Linked DNA regions of Homo sapiens: all the other regions are linked to region 4. Evidence: promoter capture Hi-C in 16 types of primary human blood cells and fetal thymus (Javierre and others, 2016). All regions are on one chromosome and are shown on one strand. Each heading gives the region's core, a stretch centred on a gene start or on the middle of the fragment in contact. The rest is flanking DNA. Distances are from core to core; before and after follow the strand shown. Region 1 overlaps FAM53B (family with sequence similarity 53 member B). Region 2 overlaps LHPP (phospholysine phosphohistidine inorganic pyrophosphate phosphatase). Region 3 overlaps LHPP (phospholysine phosphohistidine inorganic pyrophosphate phosphatase). Region 4 holds the start of ABRAXAS2 (abraxas 2, BRISC complex subunit). Region 5 overlaps LHPP (phospholysine phosphohistidine inorganic pyrophosphate phosphatase). Region 6 overlaps ZRANB1 (zinc finger RANBP2-type containing 1).

Region 1 (3,870 bases), core at 756-3,255, 180 kb before region 4:
GTGTTCACCTCAGGGCAGAGGTGGGGACACAGGGCGGGACGGGCGAGTGTGGTGCCCCTCTGGGGTGGGTGCTCTTGGGTCCGCCTCCCGTGCCAGAGTGCGTGTCAACAGTTCCAGCTGCCCCTCAGAACTGTCCTGGTTTAGGAGGTGAACACACGGGGCAGCCTACATTCTACGTGGTTTTTTTAACATTATAAAAGCAGCATGTGTTATTACAGGAAATTTAACAGAAGTATATAAAAAGAAACCAGAAGTCACCCGGGAGTCTGAGCACTGTGCTCTCTGGGGCCTTTCCTTTCGGCCTTCTTCCTTCCAGCCCTTTCCCTGCACACTGGACAGAGTGGCTGAGTCTCTCTCGTAAGCCCACAGGGTTATGATCGCTGTGCAGGTAAGGAGACTACACGTGTGCCCCATGTCAGAAGCACCTGTGCCTGGCCTGGGCACTGCACTGGGGGTGAGGCCTGGGGCCAGGCCCCACGTGGGGGCAGAACGGAGCTATCCATCCAGCCAGGGACCTCATCTAGGGATTGGGGGCAGCAAGGGGCTGGTAAGGGCCAGAGGTAATTCCAGGGCCACTCTGTGCCCTACCCTCAGGTGGGGCACAAGGGTGGGGGCACTGCGCTGGGTAGAAGCCCCCCGCCAGCCCCTGGCCCACCAGTCATCTGTCAGATACGGAGGCAGGGGTGAGGGGAGGGTGTGCTGGGGAAGTCAATGCATCCAGCCTCGAATCAGTGAGTCCCTAGGCCTTGGGTAAGGCAGGGCTGCAGGGATGGCAGTGAGGACAAGGGGCTCACCTCCCCCCAGCAGCCCCACTTCACATGTTTGTTTCTTGAGTTCAGTGCTCATAGACTTAAAAAAAAAAAATCTTGCTAAAAGCAAAAACCAAAAGAAAAGCGGGGGCTACAGAGCCTCATTCCCAGAGGGGCTGCTCTGGCCCTAACAAGCATTCTAGGCCAGACTTCCATGGGCAGATTGTGTGGGCAAGTGTTGAGTTATGGAAATCAAGCAAACCTCTCCACGCCTGTCCTCCAGGCCGCAAACACGCCCTTCTCCTGAGTCCGGGTAAGCAGAGGGCCATGCACGGGAGACAGTGGGCCACGCCGGGCTGGGCTTCGTGCTTCTGGGGCCCCCGCAACTCACTCACGCAGCAGAAGTCTGCACTGTGCTGCCTGCAGCGGGGGCAGAAACCCGGAGCCAGTGAGCCTGTCTGTGCCACCTCAGCTACCCTGGTGGGTGGGTGGTGGGGGCCATCCCAGGCCCCTCAGGGCTGCAGGCCAGGCTGGGCCCATCTCCGCACGCTGCTGTGTGGCCTCACCTCCCAGCGCTGTCGAAGGCTGAGCTGCTGTGCTCGGAAGGGCAGACTCCTCCATGGCTTCTAACTCAAGTGACACAAGGAGTGTCTCCCCACTGCTGTCCTGGGGCTCCTGGCCCTAGAAGGGCTCCCCATGATGCAGCTGTGGCCATGGGCAGCCTTCCCCCGTCCCCCGGCGTCTCCACAGCTCTGTGATGTCTGCTAGCCCCATTTTATCGATTCAGACCCCGAGGCTTGGAGGGGACAGAAGGGTCCAGTCTAGGTCTCTCTGCGCCCAGAGCTAATGCTCCTGTGAGCAGGGGGGACCTGCCAGTTCACCACACCCAACAGAAACCACACAGCTGGCACCAGGCACTTGGGTATTGAACCAGGAAGCTTTATTTACACAGTACAAGTAACAAGCAAATTCCTGAGAGACTAGAGCGGCTGGAGTGCAAGCCACAGCCTGTGCGGGGAGGCCAGGCTGCAGGGGCGGGCAGACCCTGGGCCCCGGGTCTACGCTTTCTGGTCGCCACACTTCCTGAAGCACGGCAACACCCACAACATCCAGCTCAGGGAAGCCCCTGCAGCCCCAGAAACAGCCTATGTGCTATCTGTCGCCCCAGCCCCCAGGACAGCTTCCCCACACACTGAAAACACAAATCATTTGCCAAAAAGACTATGCTAGAAGGTCAGACTATCCTATCTAGGCTACAAGATCTCCACTTCGGTCTGCCATTAAAAAAAAAAAAAATCTTTCTCTTCTTTTCTCTTTAAAGAGGCATGACAGAGGGGTTTGACCAACAGCGTGGACATGGCAAGGTGTGGCATCATTGCCAGTGTGGGGCCAGAGGGTGCCCGAGCCCCGGTGCGCGGCCAGCCTGCTGCATCCCTGCCGGCTGACGTCTGGAGTGACCGTCATTCCAGTGACCACCCCCATAGCCACAGACGGCACGTCAGTGGAAACGGGGGTGCAGCAGGCATGACACCAAGGCAGAGCCCGCAGCAGGGGGCCCGGGGTTCCACAGCTAGGGAAGCTTGCTCAGACAGGCAGCACACCCAGGGCACGGCCACTCACGCCCCCGCACCAGGAGACCCATTTGGAAGTTAGTTAGGGTTTGTTTTGTTTTCTTTTTAATGTGGACTTCCCCTTTATTTAAATTTTCTTTCAGTGTACAAATTCACAAAACTGGCTACAAAAATTTGGTTGAAAAGTAAGGCTTTCTGAGAATGAAAATCTGTACGTCTGGTCAGAACAAGCTCCCCACGGGCCCAGGTGCACGTCTGCCCGTGCAAATCCGGCCTCCACCGCGAGTAAGGCAAGAGGGTATGGCAACGAAAATGGCAAGGCTGTGGCCCCAGCCCCTGGGCCCCACGGGTGGACGGCAGCCCCTGGCAGTTTGGTGGCTTTGGAATGAGTGGGGTGCATGTGGCACTAAGCCCCCCCCACCGCCCCGGCTTTCCTGCAGGCTTAGCCCGCGCTTTAGGACCCCATGAGCAGGCAGATGGCCTGGCACGGCTTGCTTCTGGCTCTGCCCTTCCTCAGTCTCCCCTCAGAGGCAGGGTTTGTGGGCAAGGCTGTGACAAAAGTAAGGCTCCTGCCACTGCCCCCAGCTGGGGCCATCATGCTGGTGGGGGTGAGCTGTCTGCCTGCTGCCCATGGGGACACCAATGTGGGGGGCACCTCCTAGGCGAACCTCCCTCCCAGAGGACTGAGATCAGAAGTCCTGGGGCCAGCAGGGTGGAGTGCAGGAACAGGCTGCTCCGGGCAGTGTGGCAGCTTGGATGATGGGGTGGCACCTTATAGATAGGGTCTACTCCCTCCAGTCAAAACACAAACATGAAACCAGCTAAAGGCCATTTCTTTCTCTAAGCAGAAGGGATAGCCACCATTTTCTCCCCTGACTGCTGCGTGGTGGGCACAGGACAGGCAGGCGGGGTCTGAGGAGGCTGGGTCATTTCTCCCTAAGCGCCCTGGGGCTGGGCTTGCTGGTCGATGGGACCAGCTTGCGGGGAGGTGGGGAGGTGGCTGTGACTCAGCCAGCTCCACAGCTTGTCCCTTCCTGCCACCAGGCCTGAATGGGGAGGTGGCAGGCAAGGTTTGAGGGCAGGTCACCCACACCCCAGTCCCACGACATATACCTGTCACCATGTGCCTCCCACCCCAGCCCTAAGCAAAGGTAGCTGGGGGCTGCTGCATGCCTCAGCCTCAGCTGGCACCGTCCACCTCCCTCACTGCCTCTGCCTTCCACAGGAAGGCCTGCTATAGAGGCTGTGTGCCCTCGGCCACACCGGGCATGTGGTGCCAGGACCCCCCACGCCCAGTGGTACTCCGGGGGCAAGACATGGCCATGTGCTCTCCACATTCACCCAACAACTGCCCTGGCCGCCTCCACATTTGCTCTAAGAAGACATGGTCTCCATGACCCCCAGGCAGGGACAGGCCAAGATGTCTCTGTCTGCTCAGAGCCACCAGCTCTTGGGTTCGGCTGTCCGGGATCACAAGTAGACATGCCTCCGGCAGGAGCTACAGCAACCAGAGGTGAGCTGGTTCCCCGGCTCTGGGACCTGCCCAGTGC
Region 2 (4,014 bases), core at 987-3,486, 250 kb before region 4:
TTCCACCAGGGACCGTGCTGAGGCCCAGGGCCCTGAGACCCTCAGGCCCATCACAGCCTCCCCACTGAGCACAGGCACGTCCATCCCCTCCCCTTCTCCACCTGTCACCTGTCTGTCTTCCAGGCTTCGTGGGACTTCCCAGTGCCCCATTCCTGCTTGTCAGAAGAGGGGCTGGGAGAATGGCAGGGCCTGGCACTCCAGGCTGCCCCTGCCCTCCTGCGCTCTTGCCCTCCAGCCTTTCCCCACCCTGGAAGTGAGTTCATGATGTTAATGGCAGCAGCAGCCATGGTGCACCAGGCACTCTGCTAAGCACTTTATGTACATTCTTAAATTACCGGATCCCCATTACGGAAACGGAGTCTTAGGTTGAAAAACTACTTGACCAAGGTCATCCCAGCTGTAAGTGGCAGAGCAGGCCCTGAATCCAGGCAACCCAGGCTGATCACCACCCTGCCACCACCCACCCCTCTCTCACATACAGGCTCTAGGCCTCCTGTCTATACTGGAATCCCCCACAGCAGATCCACATGGAGCTGTCTAAAGAAGCACCTGCCCCTCCCCCAGACAAGGCAAGAAAGCCATCTCTACCTGGAGGGAGAGCAGTGAGGGGCATCATTAATGGGCTGTTGGGTGTCCTGATTTCTTTGAGAGAAGACGAGCTGAGCAGGCACAGCTCTTAATCCTCCAGCCACTGCCCCCCAGGCTGGGGCCTGCCAGCCCCCGCCCCTGTAGTCATTTCTAAATCGGGTCTAGATGGACTGGACGCGTGGCTGCCAGAGACCATTTGAACCCCCTACCTCCAAATTCCCCAAGGTCCCCGCCTGCAAAGGACCAGCCCCAGCATGAGGCCCTGAAAGTGGCAACATTTCAATAGCCTATCCTGGACAATCAGGACGATCCCTTTACTAATTTATATGCTATACGTTTGGGGTTTAATTGGAGCGTAATTGTAATCCATATGCTGTTAAGGTAATTACACTTATAAACCTAATATAATCCATAGATCAATGGGTTTGGAGCTAATTAAGGCAACCGTAATTAACATTTACCAAAAACCTTGCAATTACTGGAATATCCTTTAAGCTGGCCTTCCGAGCTGATAATGAGCGCCGCTCAGCGCTCCGCGGCCTCCTAGCGTGTCTTTATTCTGCACAAGGGGGCCTTCTGGGGACCTCGATGTTGGGAGGGCAGTCAGTGCCTGCTTTTAGCACCCAGGGACTCTGATCAGGGACCCAGCTGATGAGTGGCAGCACCATGGGAAGCCAGGTCCCTGTGACTTGGCCATCCCCAGAACACGGCTGATTTTCTGGCTCAATAGACTCAGCCTGACAAAGGGGAACTTGGAGAAAGAGAACAAGAAATCCATATGCTGAGCTGGGACAGAACCCAAGTGGGGTTCTCATGTGGGGAGCATATGGGGCTTTCCTCCTGCCCACCCCCTGCACCTGCAGCCAGGATGCACCTGAGCTCGGACTGCCCTGAAACCCCAGGAAAATCCCAACAGCGGCACCATAGGGCCAGGATTACAGCCATTCTTTTTTTTTTTTTTTTTTTTTTTTTTTGAGACGGAGTCTCGCTCTGTCGCCCAGGCTGGAGTGCCGTGGCACAATCTCAGCTCACTGCAAGCTCCGCCTCCCGGGTTCACGCCATTCTCCTGCCTCAGCCTCCCGAGTAGCTGGGACTACAGGTGCCCGCCACCACGCCTGGCTAATTTTTTGTATTTTTTAGTAGAGACAGGGTTTCACCGTGTTAGCCAGGATGGTCTCGATCTCCTGACCTTGTGATCCGCCCGCCTCGGCCTCCCAAAGTGCCGGGATTACAGGCGTGAGCCACCACGCCCGGCCTACAGCCATTCTTGAATGTTGTATGACTCCCGGTGATATTGTCACCTTGGGAGCTGCACAGAGACCTCCCCCGGGCCAGGCCCCTCCTCTGTCTGCAGAAGGAGGTAAGGGGCCCACCACATCTGTCTTACCACAGGCTAAGCTGTTGGCATCTGTTCTTTTCCTGCTCCAGGAGGGACAGAGCCCCCCTGTTGTCCTTGCGGCACCATGCTCTGGGAACTGGGCGCTCCTGTGGACAGCTCCATGTGAGTCTTCTTCGAGAGACTCCACTGCAGATAGAAGAAGGCCTCGAGCCTGTAGTTGCGGGGCGGTGGTCAGCCTGGGCTGCCTGGATTCAGCTCCTGCTCTGACATTTACAGCTGGGACGACCTGGGCCAGGTAGAGGTTTTTCAACCTAAGACTCAGTTTATTATGTATTTATTCATTTATTCATTTTATTTATTTATTGACAGGGTCTTGCTCTGTCACCTAGGCTGGAGTGCAGTGGTGCAATCATGGCTCACTGCAGCCTTGACCTTCTGGACTCAAGTGATCCTCCCACCTCCGCCTCCTGGGTAGGATGCATGCCTGAGGTGGGACTACTGGCATGCACCACCACACCGGCTAGTTTTTAAAATTCTTGCAGAGACAGGGTCTCCCTGTGTGGCCCAGGCTGGTCTTGAACTGGGCTCAAGTGATCCTCCTGCCTTGGCCTTCCAAAATACTGGGATTACAGGCATGAGCCACTACACCCGGCCTGGACTCAGTTTCTATAATGGGATATGGCAGTTTAATAATGTGCATGCAGTGCTTAGCCTAGTGCCCGGTGCAGAGCCACTGCTTCATTAATGCTGCTGCTGCTGTCCTTGTCATCTCTATCATTGACAGCCCTAGACGAGCTGAAGGGGTGGGCCCAGGTGGGAGGGGCCAGGTGGGCGGGGCCAGGTGGGCTGTCTGCACCTCGCTTACTCCTGGGTGGGCTGTTAGCTTGGCGGGTCCCAGGGCTCACTTTTGCCCCATCATCATTTCTGTACACTTTTTCCATCTCTGGGCCTTAGGGCCTTTCCAAAGACTTTGCAACTCTGGCAGATATTTCTAGACAGAATTAGGTTCTTTAACGAAGGAATGAGGCAAATGTGGACAGGAGATTGTTCATAATTGCGGCTGTCATTTATTGAGCACCTGCTGTGTGCTCTTAGCCTCTGGGCTAAACACTGCACAGACATAATTCACTGATTGCCAACAGCAGCTTTATGCGGCTGGCATTTTAGTCTCACTTTAGGGTGAGGAAACTGAGGCTCAGAGAGGCTGAATCACTGGTTTGAGTACGTCCAGCGAGAGGGCAGCTGGGCCAGGATTTGAAGCCAGCCATTCTCAACACCACTGTGCTCTCTGCCTCCCGAGTGGAGGCCCTGACCCCTTTGCTCTCTTCCTGGGTGGGCCAGTGGGGATGGGTGAGGGGTGAGTGTGTCAATGTTTCCCTCAGCCCAGTAGTGGAGAACAGGCAGGGTGGGCGAACTCCTGGCTGGACCACAGCCACAGGCCTGCAGGAGGCACCCTTGCCAGGGCGAGTGAGCACTGTAGTCTGGGAGACCCTAGAGTGAGATGGGGGCTCTACAAGGCACAGCTCCTCCCTGGAGGAAGGGAGGAAGGGAGGGTCCCTGCCTTACAGGGCCTGGCCCTCCCCACTTGTCCAAAGCCCGGCTGGGTCCTGGTGTGTCAGCGCTTTGCAGTACACCCTGTGCTACCCACCCAACCTGTGTCCCCGTCTGATCTCCCTGGACCCTCCCACAGCCTGGGAAGGGTCCCCCAGCTGTGAGGTCAGCATGGGGGACCTTGCTCTGCAGAGGGCACCTGTAGGGCTGGCCTTATTGGAGTCCCTCCTTTCTAGGCCCACAGTCCTGCGCTGCCTGGTGTGCGGGGCCTGAATGTCATTGTTTCATATATTTTATCTGATTTTCTAGTTGCTTTAAGGTACTTTGTCTATCTTGACTGTTAGGCTCTTTATTTTTCAAAAAAAAATTCAATATAATAGTTTGCATTTTTTCTTATTGATAATAAAACCACTGACATTATTGAGCTCTTGTTCTGGGCTCAGTTCTGCCCCGAGCTGTTTGTACATGTTACCTTGCTGAACCTGCACCCAAGTCCTCAGGCCATATTCCCCCTTACAGATGAATGAAGTCACTGG
Region 3 (4,407 bases), core at 467-2,966, 210 kb before region 4:
GAAAGATGGGAACTGTTCCCTAGTCCTCTTCCTTCTGGAGTTGGGAGGGGGAAATAGCCCTGCCCCAACATGTGATCCAGCATGGACTATGGTCAGTTACAAATATGAGTGAGCCAGGCCCCTGCCCTGAAGGACCTCCCAGATTTGTGGGGAAGACACAAACTCAGCACAGAATGGAAAGGGGCCTGGGGACACAGTGCTGTGCCGAGCTTGGAATTTGTTTCATGAAGGGACAGCCAGCAGTGTCTGTGCAGGTCCAGGGAGGCTCCACAGGGGAAGTGAGATTTGAGCTGAGGCTTGAAAGAAAGGTGGACCGAGAGGAGACGACTTTCCAGGGCAGGAAGTGGCCTGCACAGAGGCCCCGAGGCGAGAAGGACCACAACTCTCCTGTGGACCTCCTCTTTGTACGATCAGTTTTAATTACGCAAAAAAATTATGCAGTTAAAGCTTTGCTCATTTAAACAGACCTTCCCTGGATTAAGAGTAATTAGGTTTTATTGTCATTGTCTTGAAAATTGCCTTGCCATGGACCTGTGAACACAGAATTATTTATATATGTGTGCATAGAAATCATCTCATGGATTTTTTTTTAACTGAGATGAACTTGGGGGATTTTAAAGGTAACAAACAACCCCTTCTGGCTGGTGTGGGGGAAGCCCTAATTTGTAGTGCTTGCTACTTTTTTTTTTTTTTTTTTTTTTGAGACAGTGTTTTGCTCTCGTCACCCAGGCTAGAGTGCAACGGCACAATCTTCACTCATTGTAAAACCTCCGTCTCCCGGGTTCCAGCGATTCTCCTGCCTCAGCCTCCCGAGTAGCTGGGATTACAGGCACCTGCCACCACACCCGGCTAATTATTTTTGTATTTTCAGTAGAGATGGGGTTTGGCCATGTTGGCCAGGCTGGTCTCGAACTCCTGGCCTCAAGTGATCCGCCCGCCTCAGCCTCCCAAAGTGCTGGGATTGCAAGCATAAGCCACCGCGCCCGGCCTCCACTTTCTGTGGTGTAAATATTCCTACCATGGCTGATTTCCTCTGGGGAAGCCATGTCCCCTCCACTTCTACCTTCATGGTCTTTGCTTGTTTATTTTCAAATGTGGCCCAAATCCACCCTGAGGCAGGCGCAGTGGCTCACGTCTGTAATCCCAGCACTTTGGGAGGCCGAGACGGGCGGATCACCTGAGGTCGAGAGTTTGAGCCAGCCTGACTAACACGGGGAAACCCCGTCTCTACTAAAAACACAAAAATTAGCCAGGCATGGTGGCACACTCCTGTAATCCCAGCCACTCGGGAGGCTGAGGCAGGAGAATCGCTGGAACCTAGGAGGTGGAGATTGCAGTGAGCCAAGATCATGCCACTGCACTCCAGCCTGGGAGACACAGCCAGACTCCATCTAAAAAAAAAAAAAAAAAAAAAAAAAAACCAAAAAAACCCACCCTGAGTTTAAAAGAAAAAGGCTAAGAAATGCTTGCTGGGCTGTCTCAGGGGTGGCAGTGGAGCTCCCGTGCCTCCCACAGATGAGGACGTGGAGGCCCTGGCCGAGTGCTGAATGCAGGTTGGGGGACAGGGCTGCCGGCCTCTGTAAGGATGGGGACCCCAGACCCACCCGGTGGAGCTGGGGCTGAAGGCCGTGATAAACACAGCCTCACCCTGGCATTGCCCACCTCCACTGGCCACCAGCTTTGACGGACAGCCCCACTGCCACTGCCCCTCTCCAGGCAGGCCACATTCACAGGTGTTCTGTACAGAGAGCAGAAGTTTGAGAAAACGTGACCCACTGAACAGACACTTGCTGAGGCCCGGGGGCTTCATGTGTCAGGCCCAGAGGTGGCCACAGGCACAACACGCGTCCCTCAGCCTTGCCACCTCTGCTGCCCTCCAAGGTGCCCTGGGTCCAGCTGGCCAGAAGCACTGCTTTCTGGAGCAGCCACTTATGCTTTTACTTTTTTCTCTTCTTTTTTTTTTTAAGACTGAGTCTTGCTCTGTTGCCCAGGCTGGAGTGCAGTGGCACAATCTTGGCTCACTGCATTCTCCAGTTCAAGTGATTCTCCTGCCTCAGCCTCCTGAGTAGCTGAGATTACAGGCATCTGCCACCATGCCCGGCTAATTTTTGTATTTTTAGTAGAGATGGAATTTCGCCATGTTGACCAGACTAGTCTTGAACTCCTGACCCCAAGTGATCCGCCCGCCCAAAGTGCTGGGATTACAGGCGTGAGCCACAGTGCCCGGCCCAGCTTTTTCATTTTGAAATCAATACAAGTTTTTACAGATGTCTGCAAAAAATATCCATATTGATGGATCCTGGCTCCTCAGAATCTGAGGTTTTTACAAATGTCTGCAAAAAATATCCATATTGATGGATCCTGGCTCCTCAGAATCTGAGGTGACAGCAGCTTGCAGAGGACACTGCTCCCCCAACACTGCCTTCCAAGGGAGACATGCCCTACCCCAAGGCCTCCCTTGTCCCCTCCCTCCTCTGACAGTCAGGTCCAGGGGGTCCTGGAGAGGGCACTGGCCCACCCTCCACACATGTTGCACAGTGCCCTGGGAATGAGGAAGGAAGGGCAAAGGTTAGGGAAAACCAGACGTCAGTTTCTTGACCAGCCACAGCCGGTGCAGCGCGGTTATTTATAGCCCTGGTGGAGCGCCCATAAATCAAGGCTTTCCCCAGCAGCGCGGCTGTGAGGGCTCCGAGATGATCTCATGGTGCCCCTCCCTTGAACCATCCCAGAGAAAGGAGGCCTGTCACCTTCAAGGACCAATGCTTCTGCCGGGACTCAAGCAGAACCTGTTCCTGCTGCTGCAAGGTTTACAGGCAGCCTTGGGGACAGTCCGTGCAGAAATGTCAGGAGCCTTTTCCTGCATAAGGCATCTCAGAGCTTATAGCACCTCCTTGGCGGTGGCCGTGCTCGCAGCCTGATACATGGGACCTCTGTCTCACTTGCAGTGTGCACCGCAGGTCCTAATTCCTTATCTGTTCCAACCACAAAAGCTTCCACTGCTGGATGGAGCCCTGTTATCATTCAGGCTTCTGAGCCACCTGGAAGGCAAAGGCCTCTCTGTGAAAATGAAAACTTGGCTTTAAAAAGCTGGCATGGGCTCAGCCATGGAGTTGCTTAGATGTAGTTCACAATCTCGCAGACCCACGGCAGGATTCCACCCAGGAGAAGGTCCTGGAGGTGGCCATGGGGCTCAGCAGAATGAGCCGGGAGGAGCAGGACTGTTGACACGAGAGCAGGGGTCAGGCTCAGTGCACAGGTCCCAGTGTGCAGAGCTCACCCGGCCCCAGCTTTCATCACCCATCTGAGATCGGCCTCCTTCACTCCTGTTCTCTGGGACTTCCTTGTGTGTTAGAGACTCGAGCAAGACCCTTTCTTGTCTATCCCCGGACGGACCCGCCTTTCCCGCATCTCTGGGGGTGAGGTCGGCTCTCGTTCAGGCCTGCAGGGTCCCTGGTGCCGCAGCCCCTCTGGTTGGAAGGCCCCCTGCGTGCAGCCCCGTCCTCCAGCCCCGCTCGGCTCTGAATGAGTTCATTATGTCTCAGCGCGCCCTGGCCGCCAGGCTGGCAGTTCTTCGGGCTGGCGGGGCTCGGGAGCTGTCAGCCTGCCAAATCCAGTTGTTTGACTTCATGTTTCAAGGCCAAATCCTTTCAGGAAAGTTCTCTCCATCCCACCACTCCACCGCCCCCCGCCCTTAGAAAAATAAATGCGTGATTGACTGGCTTTGCAGGTTTTTTATCCATCGTTCTTTCCAAAGAATAGTGTGAACAGCTCATTCGATTCGTTCATGTGACGTCCTCCCTCTCCCAATCCCTGTCTCTCTCTCTCCTTCCACAGCCACATGAAATTGAAGTGGGAGAACATGGTGTGTGAGCATTATTGGGGGTGGGGTGCGGAGCAGGCACTGGCTTTGGTTGAGGTCTGCAAAGGAAAGCACCCCCACTGCCAGGCTGCTCAGGAGTGGCTCCCACCCTCGACTGCGGGGAAGTGCTGGAACCCTCCGCACGAGGGCAACCTTTCTTGGGCTCTGAAGGCGCCTCTCATCCTCTGAGCCAAGAAGACTTCTGACCCAGAATTCTGAGTTGAGTTCCGACGCAGGCGTGGGCGATGGTGAGCAACTCCAGGCTACCCCGAGAAAGCCGCTGTGTGACCCCATTAGGGGACTTGGCTCTCCTGCCAAGCCCCCACCCAGCACCTGTCCCTTGTGTCATGACTGGACTTGTTACTTCTAGCCCAGGAGCTCCAGGTGAAGGGGACTGTGTTGGTCCTGTCTGCCCAGGACTCTCCCCACCCGCACAGTGTACCTGTCCCACAGTGGCACCAACAAGGCTCAGCTGAGCCCTTGCCAGAGGAGACACGGTGGGCACCAGCCCCAGCGCTGCCACCTGCCTGCCTCCTCTGCCACCGAGG
Region 4 (4,205 bases), core at 1,342-3,841:
TTGGACTGAGGTACCACTACAACAGAATTTCAGCAAATCCCTCCTGGCCCTCCCTTTTTTCATCTACCCCGACCAGGCATTGAATGCTGGATGCCCACAAAGGGAGGACTGGCCTTAGGCAATGAAGCTCTCTTCAACTAGGTATACTTATAGGAGAGAGCTGACCTGCAGCAATCAATCAATCCTGCAAGGCAGACAGGAGGTCTCGGTGGCACATCAAATCATCTAGGGCAGAAACAGTAAACCATGCAGCTGCCTGGGAGAAGAGCATCCCAAGCAAAGAAAACAGCAAGCACAAAGGCCCTAAAGTGGAATGAGCTAGGGACGTCCAGGAAGCAGAAAGAAGACTAATGTAGCTGAAGCTCGGTAAATAAAGGGGGCAGTAGCAGGTAATAAAGTCAGACAAGTAATAGGGGCCAGGTCTTGGCAAGATTTGGTGTTTGGCCAAGAAGCAACATGGTTTAGTTCTTACATTTAAATGTTGACCATCTTGCTATGTTGAGCATAGATTTGGCAAGGAGGGGATTAAAAGCTGAAGCAGGAACACTGGGTTTCTCAGCCTTGTCACCACTGATGATAATTCTTCATTGTGGGCCTGTTGTTGTGCACTGTAAGACGTTTAGCCACTTCTCTGGCCTCTACCCACCCACCAGATGCCAGTGGCACCTGACACCGAATTATGATATCTGATAATGTTTCCAAACATTGCCACATGCCATTTTGGGAGGCAAAACTGCCACCAGTTCGGACTCCCTGAGTAAGAGGATACAAAATTCTGAGAGAGAGAGATGATGGTGACTTGAACCACCGTTTCACTTCCCTCCCACCCCAAGACGCTACAGTCTCAACTCTGCAGCCAAAGTGATTGTGTTATCTGTTATCAAATTATGTCACTACTATACCAAACTGTTTATTTGCCTGAATTTCCTCCATCCTTTCATCCTTGAGCTTGTAAATGTTGCCTTTTTTCTTTTCCTTTTTTTTTTCTTTGAGACAGAGCCAGAGCGCAGTGGCACAATCTCGGCTCACTGCAATCTCTGTCTCCCGGGTTCAAGCGATTCTCATGCCTCAGCCTCCTGAGTAGCTGAGATTACAGGCATGCACCAGAATGCCCGGCTAGTTTTTGTATTTTCAATAGAGATGGGCAGAGGGGAGTGGGCAGGGTCTCACCATGTTGGCCAGGCTGGTCTTGAACTCCTTGTCAGGCCTCTGAGCCCAAGCTAAGCCATCATATCCCCTGTGGCCTGCACGTATACATCCAGATGGCCTGAAGTAACTGAAGAATCACAAAAGAAGTGAAAATGACCGGTTCCTGCCTTAACTGATGACATTACCTTGTGAAATTCCTTCTCCTGGCTTAGAAGCTCCCCGACTGAGCACCTTGTAACCCCCGCCCCTTCCCACCAGAGAACAACCCCCTTTGACTGTAATTTTCCACTACCTACCCAAATCCTATAAATCGGCCCCACCCCTATCTCCCTTGCTGACTCTCTTTTCGGACTCAGCCCGCCTGCACCCAGTTGAAATAAACAGCCTTGTTGCTCACACAAAGCCTGTTTGGTGGTCTCTTCACACAAACGCGCATAACACTCCTGACCTCAGGTTAACACTCCCCACACACGCCCCCCCCTCCCAAAGTGCTGGGATTACAGGCATGAGCCACCGCGCCCGGCCTCAAATGTTGGCTTTTTGTTTTGTTTTGTTTTTGAGACGGAGTCTTGGTCTGTCACCCAGGCTGGAGTGCAGTGGCGCGATCTCGGCTCACTGCAAGCTCCGCCTTCCAGGTTCACGCCATTCTCCTGCCTCAGCCTCCTGAGTAGCTGGGACTACAGGAGCCCGCCACCACGTCCGGCTAATTTTTTGTATTTTTAGTAGAGACGGGGTTTCACCGTGTAAGCCAGGATGGTCTCAAACTCCTGACCTCGTGATCCGCCCACCTCGGCCTCCCAAAGTGCTGGGATTACAGGCGCGAGCCACCACGCTCAGCCTAAATGTTGGCCTTTTTTTTTTTTTTTTTTTTTTTTTTTTGAGACGAAGCTTCGCTCTTGCTGCCCAGGCTGGAGTGCAATGGCACGATCTCGACTCACCGCAACCTCCGCCTCCCGGGTTCAAGCCATTCCCCTCCCTCAGCCTCCCGAGTAGCTGAGATTACAGGCATGTGCCACCACGCCCGGCTAGTTTTTGTATTTTCAATATAGACAGGGTTTCTCCATGTTGGTCAGGCTGGTCTCGAACTCCTGACCTCAGGTGATCCGCCCGCCTCGGCCTCCCAAAGTGCTGGGATTACAGGCGTGAGCCACTGCGCCCGGCTAGAATGTTGTCTTTTAATACTAAGGTTTCACTTGCAAAGGGAAAGAACTGTTTGCGGAACTATCAACCGCTGTCTGAGGCGTGTCGGGAGCGACACCCCTGCGGAGGATACGGTGCCGGGGTCCTTCCGATCGCAAAAACCGGCGTTCCTCAGCCTTCAAGACTGTGAGCGCTCAGGGCCCTCGGCCGCTGCCCGCCGCAGACTCCACTTCCCATGATGCCAAGGGGTCGGGCCGTCCGGAAGGCCGTGTGCCCTCCGCGGGGCATGATGGGGTAGCTGGAGATTTCCATCATGGCGGCGTCCATTTCGGGCTACACCTTCAGTGCTGTGTGTTTCCACAGCGCCAACAGCAACGCGGACCACGTAGGTGCCGGGCCCCCTGCCGCGCCCGCTGGGGGCTTTCAGCCTCTGTCTCAGGCCGGCGCTCGCGGCCAAGCCGGGACCTCATGCGGCTCGCCCCCTGGGCACCAGGGCCGGCCGGAGGAGCTGGTGACCCGGGCGGCTCCCGCCCCCGGTGAGCTCTTGCCTCTGGGGGCTCCTTCGCCCCTGGGACAGGCCCCCTGGCTTCGCGCTCTCAGCCGCTCGGCCGTCCCGGCACAGCCGTCTCCCGTGCAGCAAAACTGTCCCACCTGGCCTCCTGCAGTGTCAGGAGTCGCTCGGTGGAAACCGAGCGCCTGCCCCTCCCTGAAAGTCAGGCTTCTAGACTTAAGAGGGGCGCACGGGGTCGGGAAGGAATCTAAAGGCCGGGCGTTTAGTCCAGTAGGCGAGGTACTCAGCCCCGCCCGCCGGTCTCGCAGGTTGTCGTGGGGGTGCTGCGAGTGAAACCGTGGCTGTCACTACTGATACTTGTTAGACACGGTTGTGTGTTTTCTTCGCCCTGATGCAAAATGGAGAATGTATACAGGAGCGTTCGGTGCAGGGTCTATTTTGTATTTCCTTGAAGTTGCGTGTTTAGTTCTTTGTGACTAGTTCTTTCACTAGTCACAGTGAAATAGGGAAGTGACAGGCCCACTACTGAGTGATGGGAAATGCATAGGCTGTGAGCCCACAGGAGGAGCAGATCCTGTCTGTTTCAGTGTCTTTATTTTACAAATTGTCTTTTAACGTCATTGGCCTCTGATTGGAAATGCTTTGTGAAACTAGATCACTTCTCTCTTAAAGGAGGTATATAATTTGGCCACCAAATTGGGGGATTATTTTAAGTGATGTTAATAGTGAATGATTCAAACTCATTAAACCTATGTGTGGGGTTTTTGGTTGTCATTACAAAGCAAAATGGTACACTGCAGAAGGAGGAACTGCATTTGGTTTGATGTCAGCAATCTTAGCTTCCATTAATAAAAACTGATTTCACAGGGAGGTGATTCCATTAGTAAATTGAATGCAATTAAATTATTGTACCTTTCATCTCTTCAGTGTTGATGGTAGAACTTAATGATAGGAATAGGAATATATACATCATGGGTTTTTCCAGAAGCAGCTTTGAAGACTATGGCCTAGGGTACTACAACCAGCTATTTAATAATGTAATATAGTTCCATATGTAAGGGTTTGTGATACCCCTAGTGTCCATGGACTATTAAAAATGGGTCCTTTATTTCTTGAATGCCTACTAATATCACAGTTTATGTATATGGCAAGATTACTGTAAGAACAAGCAGCTACCTGTTGAAAAAAATTAATTCAAGAGATATCCCTTAATATCTACTCTGCAAGGCGTGGTGCTTGACTTCATAGAAATTTTCACCAATGCCAATAGTTTGCAACTGTGTTTTATATGACCATGCCTGTTTATATTAACTTTGCCACAATTATAGATGTGGAATCCTTGAAAATAATTTCAATTTTAAGGTTGAAGAACCAACAATTTACTTTTGTAGTACATACTTATTTT
Region 5 (4,280 bases), core at 1,579-4,078, 230 kb before region 4:
AAGGGTACAATTTGATATACTTTCATGGAGTGAAATACATCCCTGAAACCAGCTCCGGATCGAGAAGCAGGACATTTCCCACCCTCTTCTTGCCCTTTGCCTGCAACCCCCATCCCCGGGGTGACCATTCCCCGGCCTCTGCCCCCGGGACAGTTTTGTTCGCTCCTTTGCTTTATGGAGGTGAAACCGCGCGATGAGGCCCCTTTCGAGTCTGGCTGCTTTTGCTTAGCCCTGCGCTTGTGAGATCCCTCCGCGGTGGCGTGGAGAGGTGTGGCCACTTCCCGCTTCGTGGCAAGTCGTGTTCTGCCATTTCTCCGAATACCGATGGAGGCTTACCGTGCTGGACCATGGAATGGGGTCTGGAATGTTCTCATACAGGTCCTGTGGTGCAATGGGCGTGTGCTGGCACTGGGATTCTGTGTCTAATGCTCTTCATCCTAGACCTGTGAGAGGAGACTGTTGTCCCCAGGGCAGTGAGGAGGAGGCCAGCTTTGGAGTGGTCACCCTCACCTCGCCGTTACACACGTCACTTCATTTAATTTTTAAACAACAGTCCTGCTGCCGGTGGCCTTTTCTGTGTGCTATAGAAGTGAGAGCAGGTGCCTGGGGACACTTGGAGGCCCCCCTAGGTTTGTCTGTAATGAGCTTGTGCTGGCGACTGGCATGTTCTGTCCCCCCCACGGCTCCCAGCGTGCTCCCAGCGCCCTCCCACAGCTTTAGGCAATTAAGACACGGGCTTGGAGTGGCCATTGCAGGACCTGCTGGTAATGGGGGTGAGGGGTAAGCTTTGTTTCCAAGGCAGGTCTGTGCCCTGGGGTCTTGTCCCCCTCCACATGCACACTGCCTGGGTGGGGCTCATTCCTGCGGGTAAGGCCCGGGATCAGGAATGGCTGTCTTTCTTCTGCCCAGAGGGAGCTGCTTGTGGCTTGAGGTGGCCCTGAGACTGTGAGACAGGCCACTGGGAGGCCCAGGCTCTAGCAAAAGTGGGGATTTTTTTCTCTCCCTAGTTTTGGATCAGGTTTTTGAGGTTGTGCAAACGTAGGAATGAGGCCTTTCACCCCGTCAGTTGTCTGTCGGGCTGTGTCGCACAGTGGCCCCTCGGGACAGCCTACAGAGCTGCTGTCTCTTCCAGGCATTGCTGCAGGGCCTGCTGTCTCTGCTGTCCTGGGCCAGGCGCTGAGTTCTGTCGCGGAAAGTCTGAGGGCAGAGCTGGGAGGGCAGCGTTTCCAAAGCAAATGGAAAAGGCAAACGGGAACGTGGCGGGCAGGGTGGGCAGGGCAGCCTGGAAACACCCTTTGTCCCATGCAGCTCATTCACTCGGCCAGGATTTGCCGAGTGGCTTACTGCACTCTGTGGCCCTGAACCAGGGCTGGGGGATCTCAGGGACATGTGTGTCCACAGAGATGGTCACCTGCCACCTCCACCATCACAGATGCCATGAAGGCTGTGAAGGGAAACAGACCTGTAAGGCAGCGGAGCCGAGATGGGGTTGATGAGTGTCACCAGTCACAAGCAAGGTGTCTCTGTTCTCTCTTCTACATGTTGATCGAGGTATAACACCCAGGAAAGGACATCAAGTGTACAGTTTGAATTTTTGCACACACGTACACCCGTGTAACCCCCACACAGATCAAGATGTAGAACATTCCAGCACCCAGAAGTTTCCCCGTGCCCCTTCCCAGTCAGACCCCCCGACCCCAGGTCACCCCTGCCCTGACTTGCAGTGTAGAGCTCACCCGGCCACTTCCTCTTTTGCCCACAGCAGGTGAGGAGGGCCTTCTACTGGGAAAAACTGTGACTATTAATTTAGGTTTAAAATGTATTGGTAACAGGCAGATCTGGCCAGTCCCTCCCTGGCTTCAATCTCCTTGGTAGCTTCCAGGATTACTCTTAGGAGGGACTGGAGGAAAAGCCCCTCTCTGTCCCCATGGCACCCACAGTGACCGTCACAGCCCTCCTCTGGGCCCTCACTGCCACCAGTGGACTCACTGTCTCCCTCTGCCCTGTGCACAGCTTCTTAATTTGGGTCCCTCTGGTTTAGCTCAGTGCAGCCAGAATTCACCCAGTGCCTATGTGAGTCGGGCACTGGGCTGGCCCAGGGGCCTTTGGAATGAAGGGGACAGTCGGTGAGCTGAGGTTGTCCCCAAATCAGAGGTGTGACCCTATGAGCAGCCAGGTTTTTAATTTTGTAATTGAGATATTCACATGCCATACAATTCCTCTTAAAATACACAATTCAGTGGTCTTTAGGTTTTTAATATATTCACAATGCTGTGCAACTATCACCTCTAATTCCAGAATATTCTGTCACTCCAAAGAGAAACCCTGTACCCATTAGCAGTGACTTCCCACTCCCCACACCCCCAGCCCCTAGCAGCCTCCAGCCTCTTTCAATCTCTGTGGATTCGCCCGCTCTGGGCATTTCATGTAAATGGAATCAGACGATACATGGTCTTTTGTGTCTGACTCCATTCACTTTGCTTAATGTCTTGACCGTTCATCTGTGTTACGGTGTGTATCAGAGTTTCACTTCTTTTTGTGGCTGAGTAATATTCCACTATGTGGATAGGCCACATTTTGTTGATCTGTTATCAGCTGATGGACATTTGGATTGCTTCCTGATATGGTTTGGCTGCATCCCAACCCAAATCTCGTCTCGAATTCCCATGTGTTGTGGGAGGTAATTGAATCACGGGGGCAGGTCTTTCCCATGTTGTTCTGTTCTGGTGATAGTGAATTAGTCTCACAAGATCAGATGGTTTTAAAAAGCGGAGTTGCCCTGCACACGCTCTCTTCTCTTGTCTGCCGCCATGTGAGACATGCCTTTCACCTTCTGCCGTGACGGTGAGGCCTCCCCAGTCACGTGGAACTGTAAGTGCATTAAACCTCTTTCTTTTGTAAACTGCCCAGTCTCTCTGGTATGTCTTTATCAGCAGTGTGAAAACGGACTGATACACTTCCACTTTTTGGCTATTGGGAATAGTGGTGCTGTGAACACTAATGTATAGGTTTTTGTGTGGACACGTTTCCAGTTGTCTTGGATATATACCTAGTTGTGGAATTCCTGGCTCATGTGGTAATTCATGTTTAACTTTTTGAGTAACGAGCGGCCATTTTTAAAGACTGGATAGGAATATGTAAGGAAGAAAGTAAATTTATTCACTTCCGTTCAGGAAATTTACCTACCAAACAACATGCTGAATGGGAACCTTTAGGGGCTTGGCTGAATGGCCCTGCACAAGGTGTCCAGGATGCACTGCCTAAAAGCTGTGGACCCTGTGCCTGGGAGGAGGACCAGCAAAGGGCAGAGCCCCCCGTGTTTCAGATGGAAAGGTTAAGTAATGTGACTCTGGTAATGCAGTCCAGTTCATTTATGAGATCATGGACCTCTTATACTACAGACTTTTTGTGTTTTTTTGCTGAGTCTTTTGCTCCCTAACCGTGTTCCCTGGCTGGCCACCCTGCCAGCACCACGCTGGTCCTCAGGAAGCATCATCAGTCAGAGACACAGGCCTTTGCTGTGGCCTCACATGCTAGCAGAGGAAGATAGACAACATGGCGATGGATGAGGAAGTTGGGTTGTCTGTAAGAGGATGAGAAGGGCTGTCATTAAACAGGTGGGTTCAGGTGGGTCTCATTGAACCATGAGATTTGAACCAAGACCTAGGGGGGTGAGTGAGGGGTTGGGGAAGGGAGATTAATGCGAGTTCTGGGGAAGGAACATTCCAGGTGAGGAAACAGCCACTGCAGAGCCCCTTGGGTGTTGGAGGAAGACACTCAGGTGGCTGGAGGGGTAGGGGAAGCATTGGCAGGGAGAGGCCAGGGCTGGCAGGCCTGCCGAAGGCTTTGCTTCTCTTCTGCCAGGCTGGCCATCACGGGCCTTGCACAGAAGAGAGCAATGACCTGCCTTCAGGTTTCAAAAGGTCCCTCTGGCCGCTGTTTGAGAGAAGGTCACAGTGGGATGAGGGCAGAGCAGGGGGACTGCTCAGGAGGCTTTTGCAGTAACCGACGGAGTGGTGGCGGTCACTGGCACCGAGAAGTGTACATGCTGCAAAGAAAATACTCTGTTCAGGAGACCAGGTGCGGTGGCTCACGCCTGTAATCCCAGCACTTTGGGAGGCCGAGGTGGGTGGACCACTTGAGGTCAGGAATTCGAGACCAGCCTGGCCAATATGCTGAAACCCTGTCAATACTAAAGATACAAACATTAGCTGGGCGTGGTGGTGGGTGCCTGTAATCCCAGCTGCTCGGGAGGCTGAGGCAGGAGAATCGCTTGAACC
Region 6 (3,939 bases), core at 1-2,500, 170 kb after region 4:
AACTTTTCATTTTTCAATTCATTGACAGTTGAAAACATCCTCCAGAATGCGTTTTGTCAGTTGGCATTGAATAAATACACCAAACACCAAACGTTTCTAAAATCTTTCATCTGAGATTCTGAGATCTGTTTGTTTTGTTGCTGTTTTTTTTTTTTTTAGATTGAAACGGGGTCTTGCTCTGTTGCCCAGGCTAGAGTGCAATGGGCGTGATCATAGCTTACTGCGCCTTCAACTTCTGGGCTCAAGTGATCTCCTGCCTTGACCTCCTGAGTAGCTAGGACTATAGGCACATGCCACCCACCCCTGGCTAATTTTTAATTTTTTTGTAGAGATGGAGTCTCGCAGTATTACTCAGGCTAGATCTCAGTGTTTTTAATTTTTATGTTCAGACAAACGGATTTTTACAAATTGTAGGAGATAGTAACTAAGTTTTCTGAAACTGGAGGAAGTTTCATTTGAAATGCACTTGTTCTGAGTATTTAAGCTTACCCCAGAATGATTAGATTTTTAAAAATTTATTTTTTATTTTTATTTTTTGAGACAGGGTCTTACTCTATCGCCTAGGCTGGAGTGCGGTGGCAGGATCACGGCTCATTGCAGCCTTGGCCTCCCCAGGCTCAAACAGTTCTCTCACCGTAGCCTCCTGAGTAGCTGGGACACAGGTGTCTGCTGCCTTGTCTGATTAATTTTTGTATATTTTTTGTATAGAGACAGGGTTTTGCCGTGTTGCCCAGGCTGGGCTCAGAATCCTGAGTTCAAGCAGTATGCTGGCCTCAGCCTCCCAAAGTGCTGGAATTATAGGCGTGAGCCATTGCACCCGGCCCAGAAAAGAAATATTTTATATCACACATGTTACACTGGTATATTAAGAAAAAGCTATCTGATAACCTTCAATGGAAAGGGAGTTATTTTAGAGAAAGTTACTAGTAGGTAATTAATAAGTGTAATTAAGTATAAGTTAAGTGTAAGTTATGAAACAAAAGATCTTTTAAGTTTGCATTTTCTTTGTAGATATTGAAGATTTGCCCCCAACAGTCCAAGAAAAATTATTTGATGAGGTGCTTGATAGAGACGTTCAAAAAGGTAAGCATGGAATTAATGAGTATAATTTACCTTTCATCTGATCAAGTAAGTTTTGTTTAGTAAGGCATGGTGTAGTTTGGTGTGTAGTCAACTTGCTTTATTTTTATTTTAAATTAAAGACGTAAAGTCCTGAAGTTCAGTGTTATATTGTATGGTTCACTGTTACAGAGTGAACAAATAAAGATACAAAAATTTTAAAACCTTGGTTCTCCGCTTCCTGTTCCAGAATGTATATATTTCTATATGAAACACTTTTTAGAAAATAAAACTGTAAAGAATTTAAAAGTTTATTAAATTATTCTAGAGACAGAAGATGTTTCAAGTACTCAAAAGTTTATATTTCAATTGGTCAATTTTATTTAGGTGTTTATTGGTAAATTACATATAAACCATTTTATAGCTAGAAAATAGGTTCTTCTCCCCATGAGTATTCTCTAATGACATAGGTATGGAAATGAACATGTATTTAAATCCATCGTACAGAATTAGAAGAAGAATCTCCAATTATTAACTGGTCCTTGGAATTGGCTACACGTTTGGACAGTCGACTGTATGCACTTTGGAACCGGACTGCAGGAGACTGCCTACTTGATTCAGTTCTACAAGCTACCTGGGGCATCTATGACAAGGACTCAGTGCTTCGGAAAGCCCTGCATGACAGCCTGCATGACTGTTCACATTGGTGAGCTGGCATTCTGCCCTGTTTCAACCCAGGAGTGCATTTGCTGGATTATTTCCTTGTAGTGGTGGGATACTTTTTATGTCAGTTATATTTTCTATGGAAACTGGAGGAAAAACAGTTCATTTTGGACATTAAAATACTTTGAACACGTCCATGGTTTCTGTTTTTGTTTTTCCCCCAAGAAATGAGATAAAAGCAAGAATCAATGGTTTTTATACATTTTTTTGCTAAATTTTAAAATAGAAACATTTGAAGCTTTAAAATGCAAGCATTTATTGTTTCTATAAGACACAGGCAGTATATTTGAACATTTCAAATGCAGCATTTCAAGTTATATATAGTAGCCTTAAATATTGATAAGGCCGTTGCTCATCTTTTTAGGGATTGATTGACTGATTGATTGATTGATCCATCGATGGAAGCAGGGTCTGGCTCAATTGCTGTGCTGGAGTGCAGTGGTGCAGTCTTGGCCCACTGCATCCTCCACCTCCTGGGCTCAAGCCATCCATCCACCTCAGCCTCCTGAGTAGCTAGAACTACAGGTGCTCATCACCATGCCTGGCTGTTTTATGTATTTTTGGTAGAGATGGAGTTTTGCCATCTTTCCCAGGGTGGCTTTGATAATCCTGATCTCAAGCGATCCGCCTGCCTGGGGCCCCCAAAGTGCTTGGATGACAGGCCTGAGCTGCCGCACCCAGCCTTATTGAATATTTGTGTTCACATAAGAGGTTATCTTGACATTGTGTTACAAGTTTTTTTCCTTCCTGAGGGAGTCTTAAGATCACATTTTTTATTTTGCAAATTTTCAAACCCATGGAATAATTTTAAAAAAATTCAGTGCAATAGATCCTGGTATTTTCTTCATTCAGTTGAGCAGTTATTAACATTTTGCCACACCTGCTCCATGTCTCCATACAGAAAGACTCGTGGGTCAATTCGTTGTAGACATCATGATGCTTTACCCTTCAAAATATCAACATACATCTTTCCAGAATAAGAATATTGTCCTACTCACCCACATCCCCATTCCTACATCTAAGTAATTCAACATTGATTCTGTTATCTAACAGTTCATAATCACATTTCTTCAATTGTATCAAAGTGTTCTTTATATATATATTTTTTAACAGCATGCAATCACTGGAAAAATAATTGTTTTTGTGAATGAATAGTTCAGTCTTTACATTTGTTTGACTTATGTGGTATTTTTTTGGTTCTTTGAACATTATCTCATTTAGTTATTACAGGCATGAGCCACCGTGCCCGGCCTATAAATTACTTTCTTGAGAGCTAAATTGTAGATCAAAGCATAATGCAGTATGGCTGGGGTTTGTGGCTCATGCCTGCAATCCTATTGCTTTGGGAGGCTGAGGCAGGCAGATCATTTGAGGCCAGGAGTTCAAGACCAGCCTGGCCAACTTGTTGAAACCCTGTCTCTACTAAAAATACAAAAATTAGCCAGGTGTGGTGGTGCATGCCTATAATCCCAGCTATTCAGGAAGCTGAGGCACGAGAATTGCTTAAATCCAGGAGGAAGAGGAGGTTGCAGCGAGCCAAGATCGTGCCACAGCACTCCAGCCTGGGTGACAGAGTGAGACTGTCTTGTGGGGAGCGGAGGGGGAAGCATAACGTAATAGAGTAACAATTTGTGGGCACATTAGAGAAATAAAATAACTTCCTGGATGACCTGACTGGATGTATAATAAAGCTAAAGAATGAATGTGTCACTCCGGTAGTTTTAGTCAATTAGTAATTGTCCTGGAGAGAGGGCTCTTTTGTGCCTCTTAGTGGAGATGGCTGTCTGGTAGTATGAAGTAGGTTCATCGGGCTGGGTAAGCCTGATGCTGGTCAGTGCTCTGCCGGTCTGGCCCTCTTGATCAGATCCTGTGGTCACCAAGCAGCTTCCTGTTGCTGATTTTCTTAGCTTCCTACTGCTGATTTTCTTGACCACTGCTATGGGCCTGTCTATGTCAAGAGGATGAACCTGGTTTGGTTCCTAAGACAGTGGGTTCTTGGCATTGTGGTTTCACAGGTCTGCCTTGTAGTTTTGGTTAATGTCACTCTGCCCTGTAAGATGGAAAGCCAGGTTTGAACTGTGGTAAATCTACCACTTTGCAGGTTCTCTCTAAAAAGGCAGCCAGTAATCTTTTCTTTGGTGGTAATTTCCTTTTTTT

The links. Contacts are between HindIII fragments. The CHiCAGO score rates a contact against its expected background, and 5 or more counts as called.
Region 1: a fragment that was not itself captured here is called in contact with the fragment with the promoter of ABRAXAS2 in region 4 in 4 of 17 cell types (naive CD4 T cells, non-activated CD4 T cells, activated CD4 T cells and 1 more); the score reaches 7.0 in naive CD4 T cells.
Region 2: a contact is called between a fragment that was not itself captured here and the fragment with the promoter of ABRAXAS2 in region 4, in 13 of 17 cell types (non-activated CD4 T cells, naive CD8 T cells, naive CD4 T cells and 10 more). The highest score is 12.7, in non-activated CD4 T cells.
Region 3: a fragment that was not itself captured here is called in contact with the fragment with the promoter of ABRAXAS2 in region 4 in 4 of 17 cell types (naive CD8 T cells, fetal thymus, non-activated CD4 T cells and 1 more); the score reaches 6.9 in naive CD8 T cells.
Region 5: a contact is called between a fragment that was not itself captured here and the fragment with the promoter of ABRAXAS2 in region 4, in 9 of 17 cell types (naive CD4 T cells, non-activated CD4 T cells, total CD4 T cells and 6 more). The highest score is 7.7, in naive CD4 T cells.
Region 6: a contact is called between a fragment that was not itself captured here and the fragment with the promoter of ABRAXAS2 in region 4, in 1 of 17 cell types (erythroblasts). The highest score is 5.2, in erythroblasts.

The regions. Positions count from the first base shown.
Region 1 is chr10:124,617,625-124,621,494 of GRCh38, forward strand. FAM53B (family with sequence similarity 53 member B) reads right to left here. Exons shown (of 5, transcript NM_014661.4): 5 at 1,668-3,870. Among named protein-coding and RNA genes, the nearest start is that of FAM53B-AS1, 84 kb to the right of the region's middle. RefSeq lists an enhancer at 2,585-2,714. The HindIII fragment of the contact is 641 bases long and covers 1,686-2,326 here.
Region 2 is chr10:124,551,915-124,555,928 of GRCh38, forward strand. The region is part of intron 6 of LHPP (phospholysine phosphohistidine inorganic pyrophosphate phosphatase); the gene reads left to right. Among named protein-coding and RNA genes, the nearest start is that of LHPP, 92 kb to the left of the region's middle. The HindIII fragment of the contact is 9,226 bases long and covers 1-4,014 here.
Region 3 is chr10:124,586,346-124,590,752 of GRCh38, forward strand. The region is part of intron 6 of LHPP (phospholysine phosphohistidine inorganic pyrophosphate phosphatase); the gene reads left to right. Among named protein-coding and RNA genes, the nearest start is that of FAM53B-AS1, 120 kb to the right of the region's middle. The HindIII fragment of the contact is 2,543 bases long and covers 446-2,988 here.
Region 4 is chr10:124,799,228-124,803,432 of GRCh38, forward strand. It overlaps ABRAXAS2 (abraxas 2, BRISC complex subunit), which reads left to right and starts at 2,592. Exons shown (of 9, transcript NM_032182.4): 1 at 2,592-2,674. The coding sequence starts at 2,603. RefSeq lists enhancers at 2,191-2,745, 2,418-2,687, 2,746-3,299 and a silencer at 2,788-2,867. The HindIII fragment of the contact is 5,454 bases long and covers 2,036-4,205 here.
Region 5 is chr10:124,568,275-124,572,554 of GRCh38, forward strand. The region is part of intron 6 of LHPP (phospholysine phosphohistidine inorganic pyrophosphate phosphatase); the gene reads left to right. Among named protein-coding and RNA genes, the nearest start is that of LHPP, 110 kb to the left of the region's middle. The HindIII fragment of the contact is 4,091 bases long and covers 784-4,280 here.
Region 6 is chr10:124,972,634-124,976,572 of GRCh38, forward strand. It overlaps ZRANB1 (zinc finger RANBP2-type containing 1), which reads left to right. Exons shown (of 9, transcript NM_017580.3): 4 at 1,012-1,083; 5 at 1,567-1,765. Among named protein-coding and RNA genes, the nearest start is that of ZRANB1, 32 kb to the left of the region's middle. The HindIII fragment of the contact is 1,536 bases long and covers 483-2,018 here.